Regions from separate parts of the Homo sapiens genome. Here regions 1, 3, 4 and 5 are each linked to region 2. The links are contacts of gene promoters, found by promoter capture Hi-C in blood cells and fetal thymus (Javierre and others, 2016). All regions are on one chromosome and are shown on one strand. Each heading gives the region's core, a stretch centred on a gene start or on the middle of the fragment in contact. The rest is flanking DNA. Distances are from core to core; before and after follow the strand shown.

The links. The method cuts DNA at HindIII sites, captures the fragments that hold promoters and counts their contacts. A CHiCAGO score of 5 or more calls a contact.
Region 1: a contact is called between a fragment that was not itself captured here and the fragment with the promoter of WWOX in region 2, in 1 of 17 cell types (naive CD8 T cells). The highest score is 5.0, in naive CD8 T cells.
Region 3: a contact is called between a fragment that was not itself captured here and the fragment with the promoter of WWOX in region 2, in 6 of 17 cell types (total CD4 T cells, naive CD8 T cells, activated CD4 T cells and 3 more). The highest score is 10.0, in total CD4 T cells.
Region 4: a contact is called between a fragment that was not itself captured here and the fragment with the promoter of WWOX in region 2, in 6 of 17 cell types (endothelial precursors, naive B cells, total B cells and 3 more). The highest score is 8.2, in endothelial precursors.
Region 5: a contact is called between a fragment that was not itself captured here and the fragment with the promoter of WWOX in region 2, in 13 of 17 cell types (activated CD4 T cells, non-activated CD4 T cells, total B cells and 10 more). The highest score is 42.8, in activated CD4 T cells.

What each region holds. Positions count from the first base shown.
Region 1 is chr16:75,569,511-75,572,210 of GRCh38, reverse strand. All of the region lies in intron 3 of GABARAPL2 (GABA type A receptor associated protein like 2), which reads right to left. Among named protein-coding and RNA genes, the nearest start is that of GABARAPL2, 4.5 kb to the right of the region's middle. The HindIII fragment of the contact is 6,021 bases long and covers 1-2,700 here.
Region 2 is chr16:78,098,404-78,101,103 of GRCh38, reverse strand. It overlaps WWOX (WW domain containing oxidoreductase), which reads right to left and starts at 1,450. Exons shown (of 9, transcript NM_016373.4): 1 at 1,219-1,450. The coding sequence starts at 1,325. RefSeq lists an enhancer at 717-1,216. The HindIII fragment of the contact is 3,217 bases long and covers 181-2,700 here.
Region 3 is chr16:80,511,116-80,513,815 of GRCh38, reverse strand. All of the region lies in intron 2 of DYNLRB2-AS1 (DYNLRB2 antisense RNA 1), which reads left to right. Among named protein-coding and RNA genes, the nearest start is that of DYNLRB2, 29 kb to the left of the region's middle. The HindIII fragment of the contact is 2,118 bases long and covers 250-2,367 here.
Region 4 is chr16:80,461,272-80,463,971 of GRCh38, reverse strand. All of the region lies in intron 2 of DYNLRB2-AS1 (DYNLRB2 antisense RNA 1), which reads left to right. Among named protein-coding and RNA genes, the nearest start is that of DYNLRB2, 78 kb to the left of the region's middle. The HindIII fragment of the contact is 1,114 bases long and covers 875-1,988 here.
Region 5 is chr16:80,531,182-80,533,881 of GRCh38, reverse strand. All of the region lies in intron 1 of DYNLRB2-AS1 (DYNLRB2 antisense RNA 1), which reads left to right. Among named protein-coding and RNA genes, the nearest start is that of DYNLRB2, 8.5 kb to the left of the region's middle. The HindIII fragment of the contact is 6,624 bases long and covers 1-2,700 here.

The DNA.
Region 1 (2,700 bases), core at 167-2,666, 2.5 Mb after region 2:
ATTCTAAAATAAAAAGATTAACCACTGGTTGTTGTTCCTTTTTTTGTTTTGAGACAGTTTCACTCATGTCACCCAGGCTGGAGTGCAGTGGCGTGATCTTGGCTCACCACAACCTCCTCCTCCCAGCTTCAAGCGATTCTCCTGCCTCAGCCCCCGAGTAGCTGGGATTACCGGCGACCGCCACCACACACGGCCTAGGACAGAACATATTTATCTGATAAAAAGAACAACTAGGCCGGGAGCAGTGGCTCACGCCTGTAATCCCAGCACTTTGGGAGGCCAAGGTCGGCGAATCACCTGAGGTCAGGAGTTAAGAGACCAGCCTGGCCAACATGGTAAAACCCGTCTCTACTAAAAATACAAAAAAAGTAGCCGGGCGTGGTGGCAGTCGCCTGTAATCCCAGCTACTAGGGGGCAGAGGCAGGAGAATCGCTTGAAGCTGGGAGGCAGAGGTTGCAGTGAGCTGAGATCGCGCCACTGCCTGGGCACTCTAGCCTGGGCGACATGAGTGAAACTCCGTCTCCAAAAAAAAAAAAAAAGTCCTGTCCTTAAAGAGGTATTTACCCAGAAATGATCAAAGTGCTTTAAGCACATTTCTAAATAAAGGATGATTAAGTGTGGGGTGAGAAGTCATTAATTGGGCCTGAAGGGTCAGGAATTGGATTTCTGGTTACTCTGTCCTAAAATCCTGACTTGGGTTACTGGTATAATCTGCTTTAGGGTGGATTCTCAGCAGAATGGAAAGGCAAATGGGACTTGGAGAGAAAATGGCCTTGAAGCAGTCTCTGTTGCCCTGAAAATCACTTTTCATTTCCAAAACATCACAACTTCCTTTTACTGAAGATCTCTTTAAGATCCAGAAGCAAATAAACACCATATTCTTAAACAGCACAGGTTTCCCAATGTCAGTTATAATATCTGGCCAGGCATGGTGGGTAACACCCATAATCCCAGCACTCTGGGAGGCCAAAGCAGGAGGATCACCTGTAGCCAGGAGTTTGAGACCAACCTGGTGAGGTAGGAGGACTTCTCAAGCCCAGGAGTTCAAGGCTGCAGTGAGCTATGACTGTGCCACTGCACTCCAGCCAGGGTGACAGAGCAAGACCTTGTCTCAACAACAATAAAAAATAATATCTTAGAGATATTATATTTAATGATATACTCCTGTTTCTATTTTAAACAGGGGATTAACAAGACTCTTATCTATGTTCTAAACAAACAAAGACCAAAGACCATTCACTGCCAGGTCTGAGTTCCCCTCTAACGTCATGACTAGGAAACTTGTACACTGATGTTTTTTCTGAAGTTCTGTCTGAACAAAGGCATGGTTCCCCATTCCGTTTTTGGCCTGATTCTTGATGCTGGCACCTAGGCAGAGAATTCAACTTTCCAATGCTAAATGGGAAAAGGCCATTGTGATTCCCTCTTTTTTAAATGAAACAAGAACTTAGAATTTAGGAAGTAAAACTTAGGGACTTGCCTCTGTCTCTATTTATAGAATCAATATTTAATACTAACTACTCTAAATAAAAATCATGACACTTTACATGGTGACCGCCTGTTTTCCACTCCAAGGCAGAAATAACTGAGAACTCACTCCCCTTCAGCCTCAGACATAATTGATCTTCATGCAGACCAGTCAGTCACCGGAGAGGGAGGGCTCCTGCAGGCCTGAATTCGTCCCTTCTCTAATTTCCCCAGCCACTCTTTGAAGCCAGCAAGCACTGCATGAAGGTTAAGGGAGGCTCCATGCTCCCCTAAGGAAGCTGAAAAGACCTGAGGAAGAGGCTGCTAAATTGTCTTGGGGAAGAGATGGTGAAGCTGAATCACAGCCAGCTTTAGGAAGGACCCTGTAGCACTTTTTATGTTTATGGGTGATTTATATATTGCATAAAGCCCAATGATGTCACACGCCTCTTATGTTTAGAAACAAATTTATATTTTTAGCCCGGTGTGGTGACATGCACCTGTGGTCCTGTCCCAGTTATTAGGGAGGCTGAGGTGAGAGGATCACTTGAACCTAGGAGGCAGAGATTGTAGTGAGCTCAGATTGCACCACTGCACTGCAATCTGGGCAACAGAGTGAGACTCTGTCTCAAAAAAAAAATTACTTCTGAGAATAAAACCCCAAAATAAACAGTTGCATTAAGTGTAGGGTGATAAGTCATTAACTGGGGCCAAAGAGCTGACAGCCTGGGCAAAAGGGCCCTAGCTGGTGACTCTAAATCCTGAAGGGTCAGGAGCTGGATTTCTGGCTACTCGGCCCTAAAATCCTGACTTGAGTTACCAGTGTAATCTGCTTTAGGGTTGATTCTCACCACACTGGAAAGGCAAATGGGACTTGGAGAGAAAATGGCTTGAAACAGTCTCTGCTGCCCTGAAAAATCATTTTTCATTTCCAATTCTATTTCTATCTCAGGGATAACGGGGGAGGGGAAGTTGATAAGACCTGTAGCCATTTTAATTGCTAGATTACTGTGGAGCCATCTGAGTAATCTTAAGGTCTCCAGAAGCCTGCTTCATTTCCTTTGAGAAGAACCAGAGAATCAGAATTGAGGAAAATAAACTCAATGCCATAGGTCCTAGTCACTTATTTTCTCCCACTAAGCCAACACCTCCAGGAAGTACAAAACACAGAGTCACCAAGGCTCTGTAGAAGTTGCAGATGTTATGAAAGAAGATTACCTCCCCAAACACGTT
Region 2 (2,700 bases), core at 201-2,700:
TGCACTCCAGCCTGGGCGACAGAGCAAGACTCCGTCTCAAAAGAAAAAAAAAAAAGAAAAACCCTCTGGAAGTGGGGCCCAGAAAAAGGCTCTTACAAAAAAAGTTTCCCAGATGCTGAAAATCAGATTTACATCCATGTTTCTCAAAACCAGGTGATATTCCACCTCACCTGGAAAGCTTAAAAAAAGAGACTCCCAAAGTTGAGAGTCGGCTACAGTAGGTTCTCTATGGAGACCCAAAACGTGTATTTAGGACATTTCCTAGGTGATTCTAAGGTGCCGATATAAGAGGCACTGTCGTATCTTAAGAGCAATCAAGGAACGACAGTTAAGGAACAGAGAGTACCTACTAGACACGGTGCTATGTGCTTTACGCACAGTGCCTGAACTGACCCTCGTATCAACCCATTTTACAGGTGAAAAAACCAAGATTAAACGTTATTTCAATGGCCCAAGGTCACACAGTTAAAGATGAAGGCTCTGCTGGGGTTTCCAAAACTTTCCCAGGAAATGATAGTGAAGCTATCTAGGACTGCTACTAAAAAATACTCCTGGCTAGGCGCAGTGGCTCACGCCTGTAATCTCAATTCTGGAGGCTGAGGCAGGTGGCCTGCTTGAGCCCAGTAGTTCGAGACCAGCCTGGGCAACATGGTGCGACCCTAGTCTCTACAAATACTTAAAAAATTAGTCGGGCATAGTAGTGCACGCTTGTAGTCCCAGCCACTCAAGAGGCTGAGATGAGAGGATTGTCTGAACCCAGTAGGTAGAGGCTACAGTGGGCTATGATGGCACCCCTGCACTCCAGCCTGGATGACTGAGCAATACCGGTCTGGACAAAACAAAACAAAACACAACAAAACTCCTATCCCTGCAACCCAGAGCCTGCAGGAGGGAGCTGAGCATGTGCGCTTTTTAAAACATCTTTATTTTTTGGCGGGGATGAGGCCGCTTTGCCCTCGCCGCGCCGCGCAGTGCTGCATCCTGAACAGCAGAGGGCGCGCCGGGAAGCCACCAGGTGACCCCCGCTGGACCCGAGGCCCACCAAGGGGGCCGGCCCCTACTGGGAACCCTGGACCCTTTTCCCTGAAGCTCCTTAACAGTTACTTTCACTTTGCACCGCACGCGCTGCGCTGGAGTGCGCGTCCTCCCCGCGCAGGTGGCGTCCGTGGGCTGTGCAGGGTCCCAGGTGCGTCCGCGGCCCCACTGCGGCCCCCTTACTTGGCGTAGTAAACCCAGCCGTCCTTGGTGGTTCTCTCCTCCCAGCCCGGAGGCAGCTCGTCCTCACTGTCCGTGTCGTCCAGCCCCGCGTAGCGCAGCGCTGCCATGGCTGACTGTGGAGGCACCTGGCCCCCCTATCGCCCGCTGCCGGGTCCACTCGCTCAGGAACTCACTCCCGCTCCAAACGAGACCCGCGCGCGTCGGGGCCCGACCGCTCACGCCTGCGCACTGCGCCCTCCAGGGGCCGCTCCGCCGACCACGAAGCTGAAATCCAGTCTCCGCAATATCGCGACGGCCGGCGTCAAAGGGGCAGGGCCTGGAGAGGAAGGCGGTGAAAGTGCCTAAGAGATCGCGCTGCCGCCGGGCTAGACAGCAAAGCCGGAGAGCGCTCCGAGGCGCTAGAGATAGAGCGGAGCCTTGTCAGCCTCCCCGCCGCAGGGAAGGGGCGTGCGCATCCAGTTTCGGGCCAGGACTCCGCCCGTTGCTGGGCGACCCGTAATCACTTCCGCGTTGTTCTGGCCAATCCTGCAGGAGCCCGGCAATTGGATATGGGAAATGTAGTCCAGGTGGCGCCTGACCAAAAAGCGGCGCCCGACTAAAAAGCGGCGCCCATGCTGTTGTCCTGGGCTTCTGTCTCTCCTTGCCTTGGGGTCTCGTGAAAGTCCGTGATCACAAACCTTCCAGGGCTTGCCAGCATTCGTGCTGATTCACAACCTTTGTTTTGCATATGAACACAATGTTAAAATATAACCTGGAGAACTTAAAACTGCTGATTCCTGATTTCCTGGTTTTAGAGAACTTTCTTTCAGCCAAAACACATAATAGAGACTGTGATAATAGAGACTGTTGTTTAATAGAGACTCATGATAATAGAGACTGATGATAATAGAGACTGATTGATAATAGAGACTGTTGATAATAGAGACTGATGTTTACGGAGCACTTAATGTGCGGTCCAGGCCAGAAATGCACAGACATCACATGTAGCTGACACCTTTGTGTAGTGGGCACAACTCAGACAGGGTAGCTAGGCCGGGCTCAGTGGCTCATGCCTGTAATCCAAACACATTAGGAGGCTGAGGCAGGAGGATCACTTGAGGCCAGGAGTTTGAGAACAGCCTGGGCAACATCGCAAGACCCCTGTCTTTACCAAAAATAATTATTTTTTTAGTTTGCCGGGCGTGGTAGTGCACATCGGTAGTCCCAGCTACTCATTGAGGCTGAAGGGGGAGGATCACTTGAGCCCAAGAAGTCGAGGCTGCAGTGAGCTATGATCGGGCCACTGCACTCCAGCATGGACGACAGAGAGAGCTGCTGTCTTTAAAAAACTGCCTCACCTTTAGAGAATTTCCTTTAGTAAGTCTGGAATAGGTCCAGAATCTGGAAAGAAAGGGAGGGAGGGAGGGAGGGAGGGAGGAAGGAAGGAAGGAAGGAAGGAAGGAAGGAAGGAAGGAAGGAAGGAAGGAAGGAAGGAAAATAAAA
Region 3 (2,700 bases), core at 59-2,558, 2.4 Mb before region 2:
TCTTTTGCCTTTTTTTCTTTTCTTTTTCTTTTAAGACAGGGTCTCACTCTGTTGCCCAGGCTGGAGTGTAGTGGCAAAATCACGGCTCACTGCAGCCTTGAACTCCTGGGTTCAAGCGATCCTTCAGGTGATTTTTTAAGTGGTATATGTAACAGAGTTCTTTGGCTCCTTGTCTTGCATCTCCTTGATCTAATTCTCTTTCAACTTCAGGTGAGACACACCTCAAATGACAGAATCCCACATCAAGCTTTCTCTCCTGGGGAGTTAACCCCCCTGGGGCTAACCCTTCACAAAGGCGGGATGGAAGCCAGTGGAAAAGTACCCAGCTTTTCCTCCTTTACCTACTGTTCAGAGATCCCAGAAGAATCAAACCCTGGTGTCTGCAGCAGTGAGCCTGTGTGTTTCCTTATCTCGGCTTTTCCTCCTTCTCTGGATCATCTCCCAAACAAGCAAATCATGCATCTAAGTCCTTGTACTTAGGCTCTGCTTCTGGGGAGACGCAAAATAAAACAGTTAAAAAAAATTTCCCCCGAGTTAATTTGCTTTTGCTTTCTCCTTTCCCAGATCTTATCTATTTTTATTGTTTTGGAGTAAGTATGAAAATGTATTCTTTTGGCTGGGCGCAGTGGCTCACGCCTGTAATCCCAGCACTTTGGGAGGCTGAGGCGGGTGGATCATCTGAGGATGGGAGTTTGAGACCAGCTTGGCCAATGTGGTGAAACCCCATCTCTACTAAAAATACAAAAATTAGCCAGGCATTGTGGTGCATGCCTGTAATCTCAGCTACTCGGGAGGCTGAGGCAGGAGAATCGCTTGAGCTCAGGAGGCGGAGGTTGCAGGGAGCCGAGATCGCGCCACCGTGCTCCAGCCTGGGTGACAGAATGAGACTCTGACTCTAAAAAAAAAAAAAAAAAAAAAAGAAAATGTATCTTAAAAAAAAATAGGGGTAATATAGGTACATCAACTATAAACATATATACATACATATATATTCTATGTTAAAGAATAAAATATATAATGAACATATTTATTTTTAACATGAAAACTGTCTCTTTGTAGAGACAGTACATTATGGGCAGTACTCTGTCATGGGTCAGACAGACCTGTCATGGAGGAGTGGCTCCGTGGTATCCTAAGCTAGTGAACTTGAGACAGTTATTCACCCTCCCTAGGCCTTAGTTCTGTGTCCCCTGTAAGACAGAGGAAGCATTTTTATGGGATTGTGATGCGTATTAATTGACAGTGTGCATGTAGCTTGCTAGCCTGGTGCTGAGCATTTAGCAAGCACCTAGCACATTTCAGTGATTTACATAAAAAACGAAAGTCTCCAGTAAGGCACACATACCCCGTACTCTGTGTGGGAGGAGGAGGGGATAGAAAACCACTGAGTCTGCTGTGTATCCTTCTAGAATTTTTCTGTGTTTATACACACATTCTTTAAAAGTGCATATGTATATGTTGTTTCATATAGTTTACTTTCTCTTTTATGCGTGTGGGACCATAGTATACATACTCTTCTGCAAGTTGACATTTGTTTTAAACAGATAACACATTGTGGACATTCTCCTGGATCAGAATATATGCATTTATTGCATTAAAAAAATGGCTGCATGGTCTTCCTCTGCATGAATGAATCCATTTGTGATGGTTAATTGTATGTGTCAACTTAATTGGGCCACGGGGTTTGACATTTGGTCAGCATTATTCTGGATGCTTCCGGGAGGGTGTTTTTGGATGAGTTGAACATTTACATTGATAGACTGAGTAAAGCAGGTTGCCCCAATGTGGGTGGGCCTCATCCAATCAGTTGAAGGCCTGAATAGAACAAAATAGCTGAGAAAATGTCCTCCTGCCTGACTGCATGAAGCTGGGACATCAGTGTTTTCCTGCCTTTGGCTTGAACGGAAGCCTGGGCTCTTGAACTGAAACATTGGGTTTTGAGCCTGCTGATGTTTGGACTGGAAATACGCTATCAGCTCCTCGTTCTTAGGCCTTAGGACTGGGACTGGAACTAAACCCTTGGCTTTCCTGGTCCTCTAGTGTGATAACTGCAGATCTTGGGACTTGTCAGTGTCTATAATTGCATGAACCAATTCCTTATAATAAATACTTCCCACCCTATACACACACACACACTATATATATATATATATATATATATATATATATGCATATTGTATATATACAAATATAAATATATACTGTATATGTATATCTATATATACACACACACACATATATTTTGTGTGTACATATATACACACTATATATAGGTTCTATTGGTTCTGTTTCTCTGATGAACTCTCATTAATACACCACTGCTTTACCCTTTCCCCTGTTCATGTACATCTAGGTTGTCTCCAAGCTTTCAATATTTCTAAAATACCAACGACATTTTTGCACATTTCTCTTCTTGGCCTCTGGGATGAACCTGGAAGTGGCATTATTCATTTTAAAATACAATTCTGGGCCGGGCACGGTGGCTCACGCCTGTAATCCCAGCACTTTGGGAGGCTGAGGCAGGCAGATCACGAGGTCAGGAGATCGAGACCATCCTGGCTAACATGGTGAAACCCCGTCTCTACTAAAAATACAGAAAAATTAGCCGGGCATGGTAGTGGGTGCCTGTATTCCCAGCTACTCGGGAGGCTGAGGCAGGAGAATGGCATGAACCAGGGAGGCGGAGCTTGCAGTGAGCCG
Region 4 (2,700 bases), core at 182-2,681, 2.4 Mb before region 2:
GCTCATCCAGGGAGAGAGGGCGACTCAGAGGGTGCAGGATGTGCATCTGCAAAACCTCCCGGCTGGAGCTGCGCATTAAGATTTGCTTGGTCATTAAGATTCAACGGGAGAAGCAGGGTCTCCCTGCCTGTCAGGTGACTGTTGAGAATAGGCTGTGTCGGTACGGATCTGAACACTATGAAGGACTTAGGAGCTACATCTCAAAACCTAGGGGGGAAAATAGTGCAAAATGGCTTTTGTTATTAGAGGTGTATTTTATTGCCTGAGGTTGGAAGGCTGTTTGCAGGTGGGAAATGTGTTCTCCAGGATCTTCCCCACAGGTGGTGCAGGTCTTCTGTATTTCCAGCCTGTCTCCTTCCCTATTAATCATTCTGATTCTCTCATCCTGTGCAGATGTCATGGGCCTCTGTATCTGAAGACTTTATCGGTGTTTATCTTGTAGCTTTTAATAAATCATTTACTGATGGTGTGTGATCCAGGGTGTTTTACATGAGTGAACGCCACCCTGGCCTCACCTTGCTGCATTCCTGTGACATGTCAGTGTGACTTCTGTTCTGGCTCCCTCCCTGAAACTGGAGCTAGAAAAAGGGAGTGAAATTGCTGTCTCAAAAAGCTTGTTTTGGGACAAGGGTGAACTTCACTTAATCTAATTATCTATAGTCATTATTGTATCAGAGGATGCACATTAAAGCAGAAACGGTTGCTGCAAGAGACTAGCACAGACCACGGAAAAGAAATTTGCTCTTCAGTGAGGGATGCACTTCAATCTGTCTCCTGCTCTCTTGACTCTTTTTGGTTTATGGTATGTTCTAAACCAGGGAGTGGCAAACTATTCTTGGGCCACCAGCCCGCCTCCTGCTCTGTAAATAAAGCTTTATCGGAACACAACCACAGCTATTTGCTCACGTATTATCGATGGTTGCTTTTCCAGGTATAATAGCAGCATTGAGTAGTTGTGACCCTCTGGCCTGCAAAGCGTAAAATAATTATCATCTGCCCTTTTACAGAAAAACTTGTGAGGGCCCCTGTTCTAGATATTTCACAGTTACCATCAGTGGGTGGTGATGCCCTGTCTGTGTCCTAGGGGTCCTCCAATCTGTGCCACAATTCTGAAGAAAAAAGTGTCAGGGACAATAGTACTTATGCCCATGTGAATGTCTACATGCACACATATGTGTATATGTGTTTATAATGTATAGGTGTGTGCCTGGGTGCAGGGGGGAAATCTTGAAGGGTGTACACCAAGCATGTGAACAGCAGTCATCTGGGTGGCAGGATTCTGTGTTGTCTTTCTCACGAGTGTATATTTTTGAGGTTTTCTGCGATCACTGTATATTTTGTATACGGCAGCAGCAACAACAATGACACAATCCTTCCTTCTTTTGTTACCTGATTTTCCCTGTATGGTTGGTGACAGTAAAGTTATGTTCCCATAATGAAATTGAGCAGGGAAAATGTCCTTTGTAGTTGAGAACTTAAGAAGCATTTGGTGACATCTGAGCACATGATCCCTCCTCCCCTGACACAAGGAGAATGAGCAATTATAGCTGTTTTGACATTAAATTTGAAAACAAAATGAATTTACATATGTACATACACGCATCTACATGCATTTGTACGTGTATATAAAATTTCCTTTTTATTTCCCCTTTCCTGTGCAACATTTCTCTAGTTTCTCTTCATTTATTATAATTACTTTTGGTAGCCTACAGATGCCAGTTGTAAGTCAATGGCTTTGGAAAAAATAAGAACATCTTTACAAAATATTTTTTGAAGAGCATGCATTCCTTCATAAGTTAGCAGCTACAGAAAGTAAAGACCACGTTTGCTTGCTCCTGGGAAATTTGCATCTGGGAATTCTTTGGAAACCGGACAAGGTCCCTTAAACTGTCTGTTCCTTGCTGCATGAACACTACATCAGGCACAACGGAAAATGGAAACCTAACTGCCTTTCCATGTTTTCTTTCTTTTTTTCTTAAATGCAAGCTTTGAAGGATCAAAGTCATGAGGACCAGCCAGGATTTGGGCTTGTTCCTGCCTCCCAAGTCAGCATAGCTGGGTGCAGAGATGGGTCAGGTGGTTCTTAAAACAGGTGCCTGAGTGCTGCCCTGGGACACTTGTACATTTAGGGGTGGGCAAGAATACTGCTTGTATTAGTCTGTTTCCAAACTGCTATAAAGAACCACTTGAGATGGGGTAATTTATAAAGGAAAGAGGTTTGACTTAGTTCTGCATGGCTGGGGAGGCCTCAGGAAACTTACAATCATGGTGGAAGGTGAAGGGGAAGCAAACACCTTATTCACATGGCGGCAGGAGAGAGAGAATAAAGAAGTGTCTCACTTTTAAACCGTCAGATCTCATGAGAACTCACTCTGTGTCATGAGAACAGCATGGGGGAAACTGCCCCCCACGAGCCAATCACTTCCCACCAGGTCCCTCCCTTGATAAGTGGGGATTACAATTTGAGGTGAGATTTGGGCGGAGACACAGAGGCAAACCCTATCACTGCTCATACTCCTTAATCTTTATTCAATTTGTTCTCCCTTTGTAAGACTCCAAAGAGAGTCCTGACTCCACAGCTACAGGTATGGCCAAGTGGTGGTGGCTGGTTGTGCAGAGGAGCTTGGTTTGATTCAGAATCTGCTTCCCTAAACCATTTGGATCTGTGAGGGTCCTGACATGAGGTGTGCCTCTCTCTCA
Region 5 (2,700 bases), core at 105-2,604, 2.4 Mb before region 2:
GACCAAGACATTCTTAGATGAAGGAAATTTAGTGCCAGCAAACATGCACTTAAAAAAACATTAAATGAAGTTCTTAAGACAGAAGTGAAATGATATGAGAGGGAAACATACAACATTAGAAATGAAGGAAGAAGAAACTAAAAATGTAAGTATAATACACTAGCGGTCAGCAAACTATAGCCCATGTACCAAATTCAGCTCACCATCTATTTTGATTAATATAATTTAATTGGAACACAGTTATGCTCATTTGGCTATGTGTTGTTTTGGCTGTTTTCGTTCTATAAGCACAGAGTTGAATAGTTGTGACAGACACTGTATGGTCTGCAAAGCCTAAAATATTTATTATCTGGCCCTTAGCAGAAAAAGTTTGCTGAATCCTGTAATAGACTGTTACTCGCTTGAATTCTCTAAAATGTGTTTGATGGTTGAAAAAGGTTATAGCATTTTTGGGGGTTTTGAAAGAATGTAAATGTAATATGTAAGGTAACTACAAGTAAAGGGAGGGTAAAGAGACTAATCTAAGGGTAAGTTTCCTACATTTCAATTGAAGTGGTCAGGTATTGGTTTTAAGTAGATTGTGACAAATGAGCTATATAATCTCTTGGGCAATCAATAAGAAAAATTACAAACTGATACAGTAAAAAGGTGAAGTAGATAAATTATCATATGAAAAATTGTTTGGGCAACCCAAAAGGGAAAAGGGCAAACAGTAGAATGGTAAATAGATGGAACAATCAAATCCTGATACATCAATAATTACATATATATCACATAAGCAGACTCATTAAAAGATAGAGATTGTCAGCATGAATTAAGAAACCAAAAATGATCAGTGATTTCTGTTTCTGTAAAGATGAAGTAGACATGCTTCTGCCTATTGTTTCCCCTAATTATACCTAATAACTCTGAAGATTATATATACAAACAGAAGAGATTGAGATAACCAGACAGATTGGCTAGGGACCTTGGGATCCAAGGAATGACACGCTCATAAGTTACTTGAGATTTCTTTTTGTCACATATATCCTAGACTAGGATATCTTGCACAAGGAGCTGGCAGACCAGAAATGTCAACAGGCACAGAAAGATTTTAAAAGTCCCAATGAAAGCCTACCTTTTCTACCCAAAGGATCAACAAACATCCAGCCTAAAAAGATGGAAACTCTCAGAAAACAACCACTCGACTCCAGCCAAACACCACAGAAAAAAACCATCAAAGCCCAAGAGGAGAATATAGATTTCCACTCTCATATTGCCATCATTCCCTCCATCCTCTGTGATAGTATTGCCAGAGAAGAATGAGTAGGGAGTTGGGACTTTCGTCCCTGTTGGGTGTTAACTAGTTGCCCTCTCCCCCAGCAGCTTCAGTAAAGATAATGTGGGAACCCATTCTGCCACTTCCACCACACCCTAGCCTGTTAACAATAACATTAAGTATAAATAGTCTAAATACACCAATACAAAGACAGAGGTCATCAGAGAGCATTAGAACAAGCATGACTGAACTATATATCATCTACATGAAACTCATTTAAAAATATAATAATATTGGCAGGCAGAAAATAACAAGATGAAAAAAATGTTGTGTAAACATTAATCCAAAGAAAGTGAGTGACTACATAAATACCAGATAAATAGACTTCAGAGGAAAGAAAATTACCAGAGACAGAGAGAACCATTATACATTGATAAGATGATCAGTCCACCAAGAAGACATAGCAAACCTAAAAATTAAAATGTATGCACAAAACGATAGAGCTGCAAAATATTTAAAGCAAAAGGTGATAGAGTTGAAAGAAGAAACAGACACTTCCTCAATGATAGTTGAATTCAACATCCCTCTGTCAACAATTGATAGAAAAACCAGACAGAAAAATCACCAAGGATAGAGAACTAATATCATCAACCAACAGAATTTAATTGACATTTATAGAACACTCCCACCAACGTCAGTAGAAGACGTATCCTTTTCAAGTGCCCAAAGAACATATACAACAAGATAGGCCACATCCTGGACTGTAAGACAAACCTTAACAAATTTAAAAGAATGGAAATTATACAGAGTGTGTTCTCAGACTACAGTGGATTCAAGATAGAAATCAATAACAGAAAGATAATAGGAATATCTGCAAACACCTGAAAACTAACCAACACATTTCTAAATAATTCTAGTTGAAAGAGGCAGTCTCAAGAGAAATTTTTTAAATACAGTGAACTGAAAGACAATGAAATAAGATGTATCAAATTTGTGGAACCCAACTAAAGCAGTTAGAGGGAAAAATTATACGTGCTCTCATTAGAAAATATGAAAAGTCTTAATCTGAACTCTCACTTCAAGAAACTTGGAAAAGAAAAGCAAAATAAATTGAGTTCATATTTAAAAGTTCCCTGTATTAGTCAGGGTTCTCTAGAGGGACAGAACTAATAGGTTAGATGTATATATAAAGGGGAGTTAATTAAGGAGTATTGAGTCACATCATCCCAAGTTGAGGTCCCACAATAGGCCGTCTGCAAGCTGAGGAGTAAGGCAGCCAGTTGGAGTCCCAAAGCTGAAGAACTAGAGTCTGAAGTTCGAGGGCAGGAAGCATCCAGCATGGGAGAAAGATGTAGGCCAGAAGACTAAACCAGTCTTGTCTTTCGACGTTCTTCTGCTTGCTTTTATTCTGGTGACATTGGCAGCTGATTAGATTGTGCCCA